Linked DNA regions of Homo sapiens: regions 2 and 3 are each linked to region 1. Evidence: promoter capture Hi-C in human tissues and cell types (Jung and others, 2019). All regions are on one chromosome and are shown on one strand. The core of a region is centred on a gene start or on the middle of the fragment in contact, and the rest is flanking DNA. Distances in the headings are between cores, read along the strand shown. Region 1 holds the start of ZNFX1 (zinc finger NFX1-type containing 1). Region 2 overlaps KCNB1 (potassium voltage-gated channel subfamily B member 1). Region 3 overlaps CSE1L (chromosome segregation 1 like).

Region 1 (3,902 bases), core at 1,009-3,508:
AGTTCTTGAGTGAGGAGTAAGATTTGAAAGCCATGAGGAGTAAGATTTGGTTGGTATGCTTCATATTTGCAAATTTGCATTCGGTGTTTGAGCACTTCTGTGTTGTATCCTGTAGCTGGCAATAACTTGGTAGCCAAACCAAACACCCCTGTCTTCAGTGCTTACACTCTGAGTACAGGCCCATGATAGAAGCCAGTGTGGCTGGAAGAGTTGAGGAAGTAGTTGGCATTTACTGAGTTGGGAAGTGAACAAGTACCAAGAGATTGCATTTTAACACAAGTTACCACAAGTTACCTGACAAAAGAACAATCTGGAACAATAAGCTTCACATGTGTTCCCATGAAGCCCAGACTTTGTAAACGCCTCACTCCTGGACTCTAGCAAAAATATTAGTTATGTAGTCGGGCACTGGTTTGAGTGGCTAGTTCAACAGAAAAACACATTTGGCTTTCCAAAATATGTCAATAAATCATCCCTCCACTTGGAAATTTAAGCGCCCCAACACACAGGAAGAATGGAATCCAAAAATATGTTTAAGTGGCATTAAAATGTTAAACGCCTCTTCACTAACAAGGTTCTTTCACTTCAGGCATTTCTCTTAAACCTGTTTCTTCACCAGAAACCTAGTTCCAATATTTGAACTGTGAGAATAAAACATTCAGAACATGTTTTTCTTTTTTTTTTTTTTTTGAGACGGAGTCTGGCTCTGTTGCCCCGACTGTAGGGCAGTGGCGCAATCTCAACTCACTACAACCTCCGCCGCCCGGGTTCGGGCAATTCTCCTGCCTCAGCCTTGTGAGTTGCTGGGATTACAGGCGCGTACCACCACGCCCAGCTAATTTCTGTATTTTTAATAGAGTCAGGGTTTCACCATGTTGGCCAGGCTGGTCTCCAAATCTTGACCTCAGGTGACCCATCTGCCTTGGCCTCCCCAAGTGCTGGGGTTACAGGCGTCAGCCACAGCGCCCGGCCGTCAGAACACTTTTTTAAATACCTAATAAATGCTCGATAGAAAGTGCTTTGTTAAATCCCACGTTTTCCTAGAAAACTAAAGCTTCTCAAAGCACGTGTTTTCTACAGTAGACCCATAGGAGACAAAGACTTACTCGTCAGGAGATCGAAGGTTGTAGATGTCTGCACGTGGCTTCCTTGGAGGTCCAGTGGTGACTCCCTCTTCCAAAATCCATTCTGTACCCGCTGGCTGCTCTAACCTGTGAACCAACAAATAAAGGGCGTTAACCGCCATCTTCCCACGGTCAGAAACGAACAAGGCCGGGCCTTTTGAGGCCGATGTATCAGAACTAACTGGCAAAATATAAGACGTCAGCATTGTCGATCTGATGGGGAAAAAAGTGAAGTCATCATTTACACCAGCCAAGGGCTTCTCAGGCCCGTGCAGAAGGCAGTGGCTTTTCCAGCTCCAGAAACTCATTTCTCCCACGCCCTTAAGGCCTATTTGGGGTCAGAGACGGAGAAGCCACGAGAAGGAGATTAGGGCTGGCCGCAGAGACGACGGCACAAAGAAGGGAAGGGAGGACCAGAGGTCTCCAACGAAGAACATGGAGTTTCCACTCACCACACACAAAACGGGAACTTACGGGCAGGACAATAGCGTATGAAGCCTGACTGCAACTAGGAGAAGTACCACACTCCGGGCACCGCAGACGCGAAAGAACGAATGGCTTCCTGAACCTCCCTTATATAACCAAAGATGGCTTTCGCACCTGCGCACTGGACCCGAAACGCTCTCTTTCCCGCCCGCTCCGCGCGCGTCGCTCTGGGAAATGTAGTCTCGAGCAGCACAGCCCGAGGCGCTCTAGTAGTTGTCCAGGCCGCGTCTAGCCCCGCCCCCTTCCCTCTACACGCCGGGCCACCCGGGCTTGTCCGCTTCCTCGCCATGTCGCGCTTCACACGCACCAAACCGCTCGACGGGTTCCCCTTCCTCTGGGGCCGGCTGAGGCCCGCAAAGGCCTTGGGCGCAGTCATCTCCCGCCCCCCGCGGTCCGCTCCCCTCAGCCGCGCCCGCCTGAGCCCGCCGGCTCCGCCGCCGGGGGGAGCTGAGGTGACGCCCTCCTCGAGGGCGGAGGCGCCGGCCGTGCCTGGGCCAGGCCCTCGTGCTCTCCACCCTGGGCCCCCGCCTCCTCCTTCTCCTCCTCTGGGCCGCCCGCCCGGCTCCGCCCAGGGTCTGCGGGGAACGGAAACCGAAAGTGCGCGGCGCCGGGCGGGGCCACCGACCTGCCTGGGCCGAAGCCCCAGCACTCGCCGGCGGCAGTGAAAGGACGCGCCGGAGCCGGGTGAGTGGCCCCGCAACTGCCCCTGCCCCTGATTCTTCCTTGCCTCGCCGCGAACCCCGGCGCCCGCGCCGACCCGCCACTGCCTCTGCCCGTAAGACCTGTCACCCTCTCAAGCCCCCAACGCACCCGTCACCCGCTCAGAGCCCCTGGCCCCTCAGCGCCCCGTCGCCCCCTCAATCCCCAGACCCCCATCACCCACTCAGAGCCTTGTCACCTCTTTGGCCCCCAGCGGCATCAGCACCCACTCAGAGCGCCTCTCAGCGCCCCGTCTCCCCCTCAGACCCCAGACCTCCATCGCCTACTCAGCGCCCCGTCACCCACTCAGCCCCTGGCCCATCTCAGCGCCCCGTCGCCCCTTCGGCTCCCCTGTACTCTCTTTAGTGTCCCCATCCCCTCAGCTGGCCCGTCGCTCTCCCCAGCACCCCCGACACCGTCACCGCTTCTGCCCTCAGCACTTCGATCTCCTCTGCCCCTACCCCTGTCTGTGCCCTCCCTTCTGCCACTCGCACCCCCCTCATTCCTCCGGCCTCACCTCCTGTCACCTTATCAATCCCCCTCTTCTACAGAGCACCTCGGCACCCCCTTCAGCCTGCTCCCTGCCCCCACCCCGCCGCCTCCGTCCTCAGCAAGCACCCCCTGGTGCTCGCTACCACCCTCTCCCCAAGGCCCCCATAACCCCGCCACCTCACAGCCTTGGCGCTCCCTGACCCCATAACATTTCCATTAGGGACCGTGGGCTCCCTGGGTCAGGGATTCCCCAGGACCCTGGAGACTTCCCCCAAACCCAGCTCTGCCTCCGACCTCAGCCTCCTGCGTCCCACTCTGGTGATGACTAGCCCCTCTCATTCTGACTCCAGGCCAGCTTGATCATCACTGATTTTCTTCTTCGTGCCCTTTAGGCCTTGATTCCCCCCACCAAAAAAAAACACTTCAGTCTGTTTTCGATCCCAGCATTTCCTGTTCATGTCTACTCCTCCCTTCCTTCCCTTGCCTTTTTTTTAACATCTTTTTTTCTTTTCTTCCGTTTCTTTTAAATTTTCTGGAGTTTCTATTTTAGCATTTTTCAACAAGGGGAAGAAGGAATTTTCCCCTCGGAGAATTGAAAATAAACAAACAAACTCTAAATACTGAGCCTGCGCCAGGAGGGCTGGGTTTGATAAGATGAGGGAGGGGACTCACCAGAGATATTCCCAGGGGGAAGAAAAGAGACTCCTTTTTCAGATGAGGAAAAAAGCTGCCCCTCATATAATGCCAAATGTAGTCACAGTTTCCAATTATGAATATTTTAGAACTCAGTGAAGACAGTCTCAAAAATCCCTTTGCTGAGGACTCTGAGTCACCCACTCTTTCCTTAGCCCCAGCCCACACCATGTGTATGAGTTGGGTTGAGAAGCTCCCTTAAAGGGGCTTCCTCTTCCTCTTACAGGACCAGTGTCAAAAATCACCAAGGTAGAAGAATGAGGAGGAAGAAAGAATATCAGATTTCTAGCTGGTCCTGAGGAAACAGCACCTCGTAGTTGCCAAACCTCCTGGTTATTGAAACATGTAATTTCTTTCTCTTGATTCAGTAGAGCAGAGAGCTTAATCATTTGGCTCCATTCCAAAGAG
Region 2 (3,902 bases), core at 432-2,931, 190 kb before region 1:
ATCTGCTGCCTCCAGCCTCCCATCCCCCGTCTGGTCTCCACACACAGCAACTCACGCCCCCGCTCAAAACCCTCCTATGGCTCCTGCCTCACTCCGAGAAAAAGCCCAACTCCTCAGTCCCACTCACAGGGCCCATTATCTGGCATCTTTCCCCTTTTCCCAGCACCCTTACAGCCTCCTTCCCTACCACTCTCCCTCTCCATCACTCTGTTGCATCCACAGTGGCCTCCTTGCTGTTCTAGGCACCCTCCCACCTCAGGGCTTTTGCACTTACTGTCCGTCCCTTCTGCCTGGTACGGTCTTCCTGCTGATGCCACGAGACTCACCCCTCACATTGTTCAAGTCTCAGCTCAAATGTCATCTCAGCAAGGCCATCCTTGACCACCACATATAAAATAGCACTGTTCATTCCCCATGGCTGCTTTATTTGTTTCAACCTGACATATAATTACTTAATTATATGATTCCTTTCTCTCTCTCCCACTTTGATGTAAGCTTCAAAGGGCAGGGATTTTGTGTGCTTTGTCCACTGTTGTGTCTTCAGTGCCTGCCATAGAGCAGGCATGAAATACATGCATTGAATAAATGAATGAATGATGTTATCCTAGAGATAACTGAGAATACTAATTGATGAAAAAGGAATTTGTTTACAAACTTTGGGACTTTCACTCTTATTACTAACACATTGCTAGAAGTCTGACTCTCAGCTGCTTATGCCAGGCTCTGGATGAAGAATGTGTCTGGTTTTTCAACCAGAGCCCAGTTTCTCAACCTTAGTGCTACTGACATTTGGCGATGGAGAATTCTTTGCCGTGGGGCTGTCCTGTGCATTGGAGGATGTTTAGCAGTGGAGAATGGACATTAGAGAAAGAAGGGATAAGCCGCTGCCAGGAGGATATTGCATTATTCCAGGAAAGAGAAGAAAGATGACAGCCCAGAAGAGGGTGGTGGCAGGGAAGATCGGTGAAAAGTGGCTGGACTCTGGATGTAAGGTGTGGAGGCAGCTCCTGGGAAGCCACAACGCCCCTGCCTCCACCAGTGGTCACAGACCCTCAGGCTGTGCAATGGGTCTTAAGCCCTAGCCTTTTTTTAAGCTGTGAGTCCTTGGGTCACGTAGCTGTTTCCTCATCTGTAAAATGGACCTAATCACAGCACGTACCTCATAAGGAGATTGTAAGGATTTGATAATTATGGCAAATAACAGTAACAGACACATAATGCCCAACAGGTCAATAACAAACTTTTATTATCAGGATTGGTTGTGTATATTCATTCAGTGGAACTTATTGAGCACCTACTATGTGTCAAGCATTGTGCTGGGTGCTGGGGACAAAGCAGAGATCAAAACAAAGATCCCAGCTCTCATGGCACTGATATTCCAGTAGAAGAAGGAGCAAGACTGTTAAAAAAATAAACACAGATACTGATTGGACCAAAACAACCATGCAAAATAAATCATGAGACTGTAAGACAATCAGGGAAAGAAAGATGAATGCTAACTGAATATTGGATGATATTGAGGAATGAATGCTGTGTTTTTAGATGTGATAATGCTATTACGACTATGTTTTAAAATCTTTATCTTTTAGATACACATACTGAAGTGTTTATGGACGAAATGACAAGATCAAATAATTATGTAGTTTTTTTTTTTTTTTGAGACAGAGTCTTGCTCTGTCGCCCAGGCTGGAGTGCAGTGGCTCAATCTCGGCTCACTGCAACCTCTGCCTCCCAGGTTCAAGCAATTCCCCTGCGTCAGCCTCCCAGGTAGCTGGGATTACAGGCACCCGCCACCATGCCCAGCTAATTTTTTGTATTTTTAATAGAGATGGGATTTCACCATGTTGGCCAGGCTGGTCTCAAACTCCTGACCTCAAGTGATCTACCCACCTTGGCCTCCCAAAGTGCTGGGATTACAGGCGTGAGCCACCGTGCCCGGCCTGATATAATATTTTGGATGGCACTGTGGAGAAAGTTCTGCAGGGAAGGAGGGGAGTGCTGGGGCTTAACCAGGCTGGTCAGGAAAGGAGAAGGTGCCAAGTAGAAAGGGAGGGAGACAGGCATGTGGGCATGTGGGGGAAGAGTGCTCTGGGTGGAGAGAAAAGCAGTGCTAAGGCCCTGGGACAGGAACGTGCCTGGGGCACTCAAGGAACATTCAGGTATTAATGTGGTTGGAGCAGAGTGTACCGGAGGCAAGAGAGTAGAAGGAGGTGAGATCAGAGGTGCGACCTTGTGGGTCACTGCTGAACTCTGACCCTTCCTGGGAGCCTCTGAGCCCCAGAATAGGCTCCCTGCTTCCAGCCTTTCCCATCCAGTTCAACCTCTGCAGAGCAGCCAGAGCCGACTTTCTCAAATGCAGTCTGCTCAACTTCATCACCCCCTTCCCAAAACTTCCATAGTTCCCACTGCCCCCAGGATAGTCCACACTCCTTAGCCTGGCTTTCGACATCCCAACCCAACTCTCCACCTTCATCTCCTCCCCATCCCTTCTTCAGACACCCTCTGCGACCACCACACTAACCTTTCTGCATGCCCCCAAAAGCTCCAGCCTTCCTCAGCGCTGGTCACCCTCTTGCCCAAGCTGTTCCTCTGCCTTGCACCCATTTCTTCCTCTTCTCTGCCTGCAGCCTCTCTCTTTCCACCTTCAAGGCCCAGCTTCCCCACCACCTCCTCTGTGAAGCCTTCTTTAACCACCCCCCGCCCCCCTACCACCACCTACACTTCCCTTCAGGCAGCACTGACTGCTCCCTCCTCTGTGCACCGGAAACCTGACGTTCATACCTTCCTCGCACAAAACATCGTGAAAATTCACTTGTGGGTTGTTCTGTGGATGCCAGGCCTGGCCTACAGAGAAACAGGAAAGCTTAAGCGTGCAGGCTGTGCAGCCTGACTGCCTGGGTTCAAATCCCAGCTCAGCCACTTTTGAGCTGTGTGCCCTTTGGGGAATTACATAACTTCTCTAGGTTTCAATGTCCTGATCCGTAATTTGGAAAGCCTCATAACAACCAGGGTTGTTGGGCAAATTCTATATGAAACACTCAAGCCGTGCCTGGCACTCAGCAGGTGTTCAGTATATTTCACTATTACTATTGTTACTGCAGGTAGGTGTTGGTAAACGTTTGTTGAGTGAATAAATGAGCAAATGTGCATGATCTTGTGATGACTGATCAGAGGGGTCTTCCTTAAAAGGTAAGGGTCTCTTCCAGGTACACCCTGCTCCTTCCACCTTTCTTGTCTCTACCTGCCTGCAGAAAGAAGTGGCCTTTTGCCTTCCATTTACAGAGAGGAGACACACAATTAAGTTAGACACTTGAGGTGTTCCCTCACACCCTGACTGTTTTTGAGACAAGGTCTCGCTCTATTGCCCAGGCTGGAATGCAGTGGCGCGATCATGGCTCACTGTAACCTTGACCTCCTGGGCTCAAATGATCCTCCCACCTCAGCCCCTTGAGTAGCTGGGACTACAAGTGTGCACCACCGCCACACCCGGCTAATTTTTGTACTCTTTTTTTGTAGAGACAGGGTCTTCCTATGTTACCCAGGCCAGTTTCAAACTCCTGGGCTTCAGCAATCCTCTCACCTTGGCCTCCCAAAGTGTTGGGATTACAGGTATGAGCCACTGCACCTGGCAGCTGCTCCATTTTTGCTCTGAAATGAGACTGGTTTCTACCACAACTGCCCACCATGGGCTGGCAGGCAGGCACTGTCTTTGAGAGAATAATATTGCATTTGCCAATTCCACACCATCACTTACATCCACCAGGTAATGGGCCTAGAACCAAACAGTTTCTAAAAACAGATCATCAATTGTCACTAATCACTCCCTACAGGCCATCCCTGAGTCTTTCTAAGCTTTGTGTGATCCTTGGAGCCCTTGAGCTTGGCCAGCCCCACCTCTCAGA
Region 3 (3,902 bases), core at 1,006-3,505, 180 kb after region 1:
AATGTACTAGTCTTGCTGTTCAGTAACTATTTTAAAAGGCACACCATCTACTACTCAGCCTTTTGAACTGAAGAAGGAAAACGTTTCGAACTCGATCTGAGTTTAAGATGTTGAATCAAGCAGCCTCCAGAACGGTATCTGACTGACTGTTCACAAGCAGCTTCAGGAAGAGCAAAGCCAAATAAATACTTAAGGAGCTCATGTGAGTGAAAAACATACAGAAACCATCACTAGCAATTCCCTGTTGTCCCAGACTTTCCAAATAAATTGTGGCTTAAAAATGGCTTCAGTAATATTTCAGTATCTTTCTACCAACGACCACTTAAGCCAAAGTAATAACGTAAAATGTAGTATTCCCATTACTGTGTCAAAACCAACAACAACAACAACAACAACAACAACAACAACAACAACAAAAAGCCCTTAAATGACTAGATGGTACAAATAGACTTAAGAGAACTTGAAATTTCTCATGCAACATTACAGAAACAAGTGGCTGGGCACAGTGGCTCAAGCCTCTAATCCCAGCACTTTGGTAAGCCGAGGCAGGCGGATCACAAGGTCAGGAGTTTGAAACCAGCCTGGCCAACATGGTGAAACCCTGTCTCTACTAAAAATACAAAAAATAGCCAGGCATGGTGATGCATGCCTGTATCCCAGCTACTCAGGAGGCTGAGGCAGGAGAATCGCTTGAACCTGGGAGGCGGAGGTTGCAGTCAGCTGAGATTGTGCCACTGCACTCCAGCCTGGGCAAGAGTGAGACTCCGTCTCAAAAAAAAAAAAAAAAAAAAAAAAAAAAATTCAAAATAAGAAAAACCATTCGAGTCAAGTGCCTAAGATTAAAAAAGTTATCACCAGGCACAGTGGCTCACGCGTGTAATCCCAGCACTTTGGGAGGCCGAGGCAGGCAGATCATGAGGTCAGGAGTTCGAGACCAGCCTGACAAATATGGTGAAACCCCATCTCTAATAAAAATACAAAAATTAGCTGGGCGTGGTGGCGGACGCCTGTAATCCCAGCTACTCGAGAGGCTGAGGCAGGAGAATTGCTCAAACCCAGGAAGTGGAGGTTGCAGTGAACTGAGATTGTGCCACTGCACTCCAGCCTGGTCAACAGAACAAGACTCTTATCTTGGGGGTAAAAAAGAAAAAAAAAAGGGATATCGATAACTCCTGTGACAAATCACTTGAGCTGGGAAGACAAAAGTTCCAGTTTAACTACACTGAATGGACAATGAACAATTCCAGCATAAACTGTGCCTCACAAAATTTAGATATTCTGATTCTTCATTCCTCAGAAACGAATGCTGTACAATTCCATGGGCCAGGCCAAGGGAGGGAGCCAGTGCAACCAAGCTCACCAGGCATCCGGCCGGATCCACCACTGGACTGGACTTCACGGTTCTAAGGTGTCAGGGTTTGAAAAGTTCCAAGTAACCTCCACTCTCCAGGGAACAGCAGAGATGAAAGAGATCAAAACATCCACAGTCTCAAGTACTCTCGACCGCCATCCCATTAAGCGAGGCAGAGCATTTCTCCCAGAGGAGCCACCTACCCAAAACTCACACTGCCACCTAGGAACTGCTACAGAAAATTCTAGTAAATAAGCCCCAAATCTATATTAATGTCCCCTTCCCCCATATAAAAAAAAAGACTAAATAATCTGAGTTTACATGATTTAGAAATTAGGATTTTACAGAGTCCAGGAAAGGAAAAGGAAGAAATTTAAAGAAATTCTTCATTTTTATAAAAGCATGAGAGAGCACTGAAAACCTGCCCTTAAGATGTTCTTAGGTACATATTTTAGGATTTTTATTGCTGATTACAGATTTGAAACTATGAAATGTGCACTGCTTGGCAAGTAACACAAGTAATTCTTTACTTATTCACATTTCCAATAAAAGCGTAAATAAACAGACAAAAAATATAAAGGACAAGAGAAATACAAATAGCAACAGCTTCAAAACAAAAGGATTTAGTAACAGAAAGTCTCCACAGTGTCCGTCAAAATTTAAGATTATCCAAACCGTGCAAACGCTCAACACAAACCAACGCCATACACTGAACTATTAATACTTGTCCCTTGAAGTTGCAAACTAGAAGCCACCCACATAACTGTATGATCACACAAACCAACTAATTTGCTCAAGGTTCAGGTTAAAGCAACATTTAATATCCTTTACAAGATGGAATTCGTGACAAGTTCAAAAGGAGAACTTCCTTTGTTTTAATGCAGCTGTGCTCAGAAGCCTGTGATTTCCTAGGAAACCATCTGGGTTTAGCCCATTAGAAAAATGCAGTTTAAAGCAGTGTCACACTGGCTGCCTGAAGGTACCCTTGGAGATACTGGAGCGCTTCTGCATTCAGGCTGGTGCTCACCATTGATGGAACCTACAAGAGATGGGAAACACACACTGGCTGTTGGAGATCTTGGTGCGCCAATACAAACCCCATCTTCTACGGGAGAGCTGCCACAGCTCTGGGAAGAGCAGCCAGTCAAGTCATTAATCACCATCCAAAAATTCTCCAGAAACTCAACTGCTTTTATGCCTTCAAAAATAGGTCTAAAGAAAAGATCCATAAGGAATTACTATTATTAGGTGTGATAGTGGTATTGTGGTTAATTAAAAAGTCCTTACTGGTTAATGATGTAGAATAAGGTACTTACGCGTGAAACGTATGATGTCTAAGACTTGCTCAATACAGAGAATAAAAGGAGAAACGAAACAAAACTGGCAAGATATTGGTAATTATTGAAGCTGGGCACATGCAGGCTTCATTATGCTCTTTCTATATATGTTTGAAAGTCTCCGTAATAATACAATGAAAAAATATATATACATATATATACACACGCCACACACATATATGTTTTTTAAGAAACGGGACCTCGCTCTGTTGCCCAGGCTGGATTGCAGTGGCACTGTAATAGCTCACTGCAGCCCTGGCCTCCCAAAGCACTAGAACTACAGGCATAAACCACTGTGTCTGGCTTGAAAAATATATATTTTATCAGGTAACATGTAAGAACTCTATAATAAGTGCTGACAAAATGCAACTATACAGTCATTATTAGGTTTATGCCATGATCTATTAATTTCTGAGTATGCTGCAATTAAAAAAAAATAACTGTGTCCAGGCTCACACTTGTAATCCCAGCACTTTGGGAGGCTGAGGGAGGAGGATGGCTTGAGCCCAGGAGGTTGAGACCAACCTGAACAACATAGGGAGACCCTGTCTCCACAAAAAAATAAAAAATTAGCTGGGCATAGTGGGTCCTAGCTACTTGGAAGGCTGACAGGCAGTAGGATCACTTGAACCTGGGAGGTTGAGGCTGCAGTGAGCCATAATCGTACTACTGCATTCCAGCCTGGATAAGAGTGAGACCCTGTCTAAAAAAATAAATAAATAAAAATAAAAATAAAAAAATGCTACCACATTTTAATAATAGATGGATTACTTCGATCTGGGAAATAAACTCTTATTATAAAGTGCTGACAAAATGCAACTATACAGCCTTATTACATTTCTATTGAAGGGATTTTTCCTCCTTTGTTCTCACTCCTAAATCCATTCACTTAAAATATATTTGTAGTACATAATACAAGAAAAAAAGGGCTCAGTGTTTTTAATTAAAGAAAATAAGCTTGCTGTAACTCAATGAGATTTAGTTTTATTACGCCCACCAATGAAAACAGACACCAGAACTACTACTATCCTTTTGCCCTCCCATTAAAGTCTCCATTTATCACAGAGTTCTTTGACAACACACTTACCCTTCCTGGACAGGCGGTAGACAACTTGTGAAGTGACTGTGCCAGGTGAATTTTGGGGTTATTCACCATTTGACCTACAGGATCATGCTCTTTTTTCCCAGCAAATGCCAACTGTGAGAAGGCAGTC

What was found. Contacts are between HindIII fragments. The study calls those that stand out against the background at their distance.
Region 2: a fragment that was not itself captured here is called in contact with the fragment with the promoter of ZNFX1 in region 1 in 2 of the 25 tissues and cell types used here (aorta and dorsolateral prefrontal cortex).
Region 3: a fragment that was not itself captured here is called in contact with the fragment with the promoter of ZNFX1 in region 1 in 2 of the 25 tissues and cell types used here (adrenal gland and heart right ventricle).

What each region holds. Positions count from the first base shown.
Region 1 is chr20:49,276,413-49,280,314 of GRCh38, reverse strand. ZNFX1 (zinc finger NFX1-type containing 1) reads left to right here and starts at 2,258. Exons shown (of 14, transcript NM_021035.3): 1 at 2,258-2,294. It overlaps ZFAS1 (ZNFX1 antisense RNA 1), which reads right to left and starts at 2,137. Exons shown (of 4, transcript NR_036658.2): 1 at 1,599-2,137; 2 at 1,107-1,211. SNORD12C (small nucleolar RNA, C/D box 12C) reads right to left here and starts at 1,370; the gene lies at 1,292-1,370. It overlaps SNORD12B (small nucleolar RNA, C/D box 12B), which reads right to left and starts at 2; the gene lies at 1-2. RefSeq lists enhancers at 1,554-1,753, 1,629-1,923, 1,681-2,181, 2,182-2,682, 3,024-3,083 and silencers at 1,844-2,203, 2,254-2,483. The HindIII fragment of the contact is 7,798 bases long and covers 690-3,902 here.
Region 2 is chr20:49,467,460-49,471,361 of GRCh38, reverse strand. The region is part of intron 1 of KCNB1 (potassium voltage-gated channel subfamily B member 1); the gene reads left to right. Among named protein-coding and RNA genes, the nearest start is that of KCNB1, 13 kb to the left of the region's middle. The HindIII fragment of the contact is 3,354 bases long and covers 5-3,358 here.
Region 3 is chr20:49,094,837-49,098,738 of GRCh38, reverse strand. CSE1L (chromosome segregation 1 like) reads right to left here. Exons shown (of 25, transcript NM_001316.4): 24 at 3,776-3,902; 25 at 1,790-2,390. The coding sequence ends at 2,301. Among named protein-coding and RNA genes, the nearest start is that of CSE1L, 50 kb to the right of the region's middle. The HindIII fragment of the contact is 5,127 bases long and covers 1-3,902 here.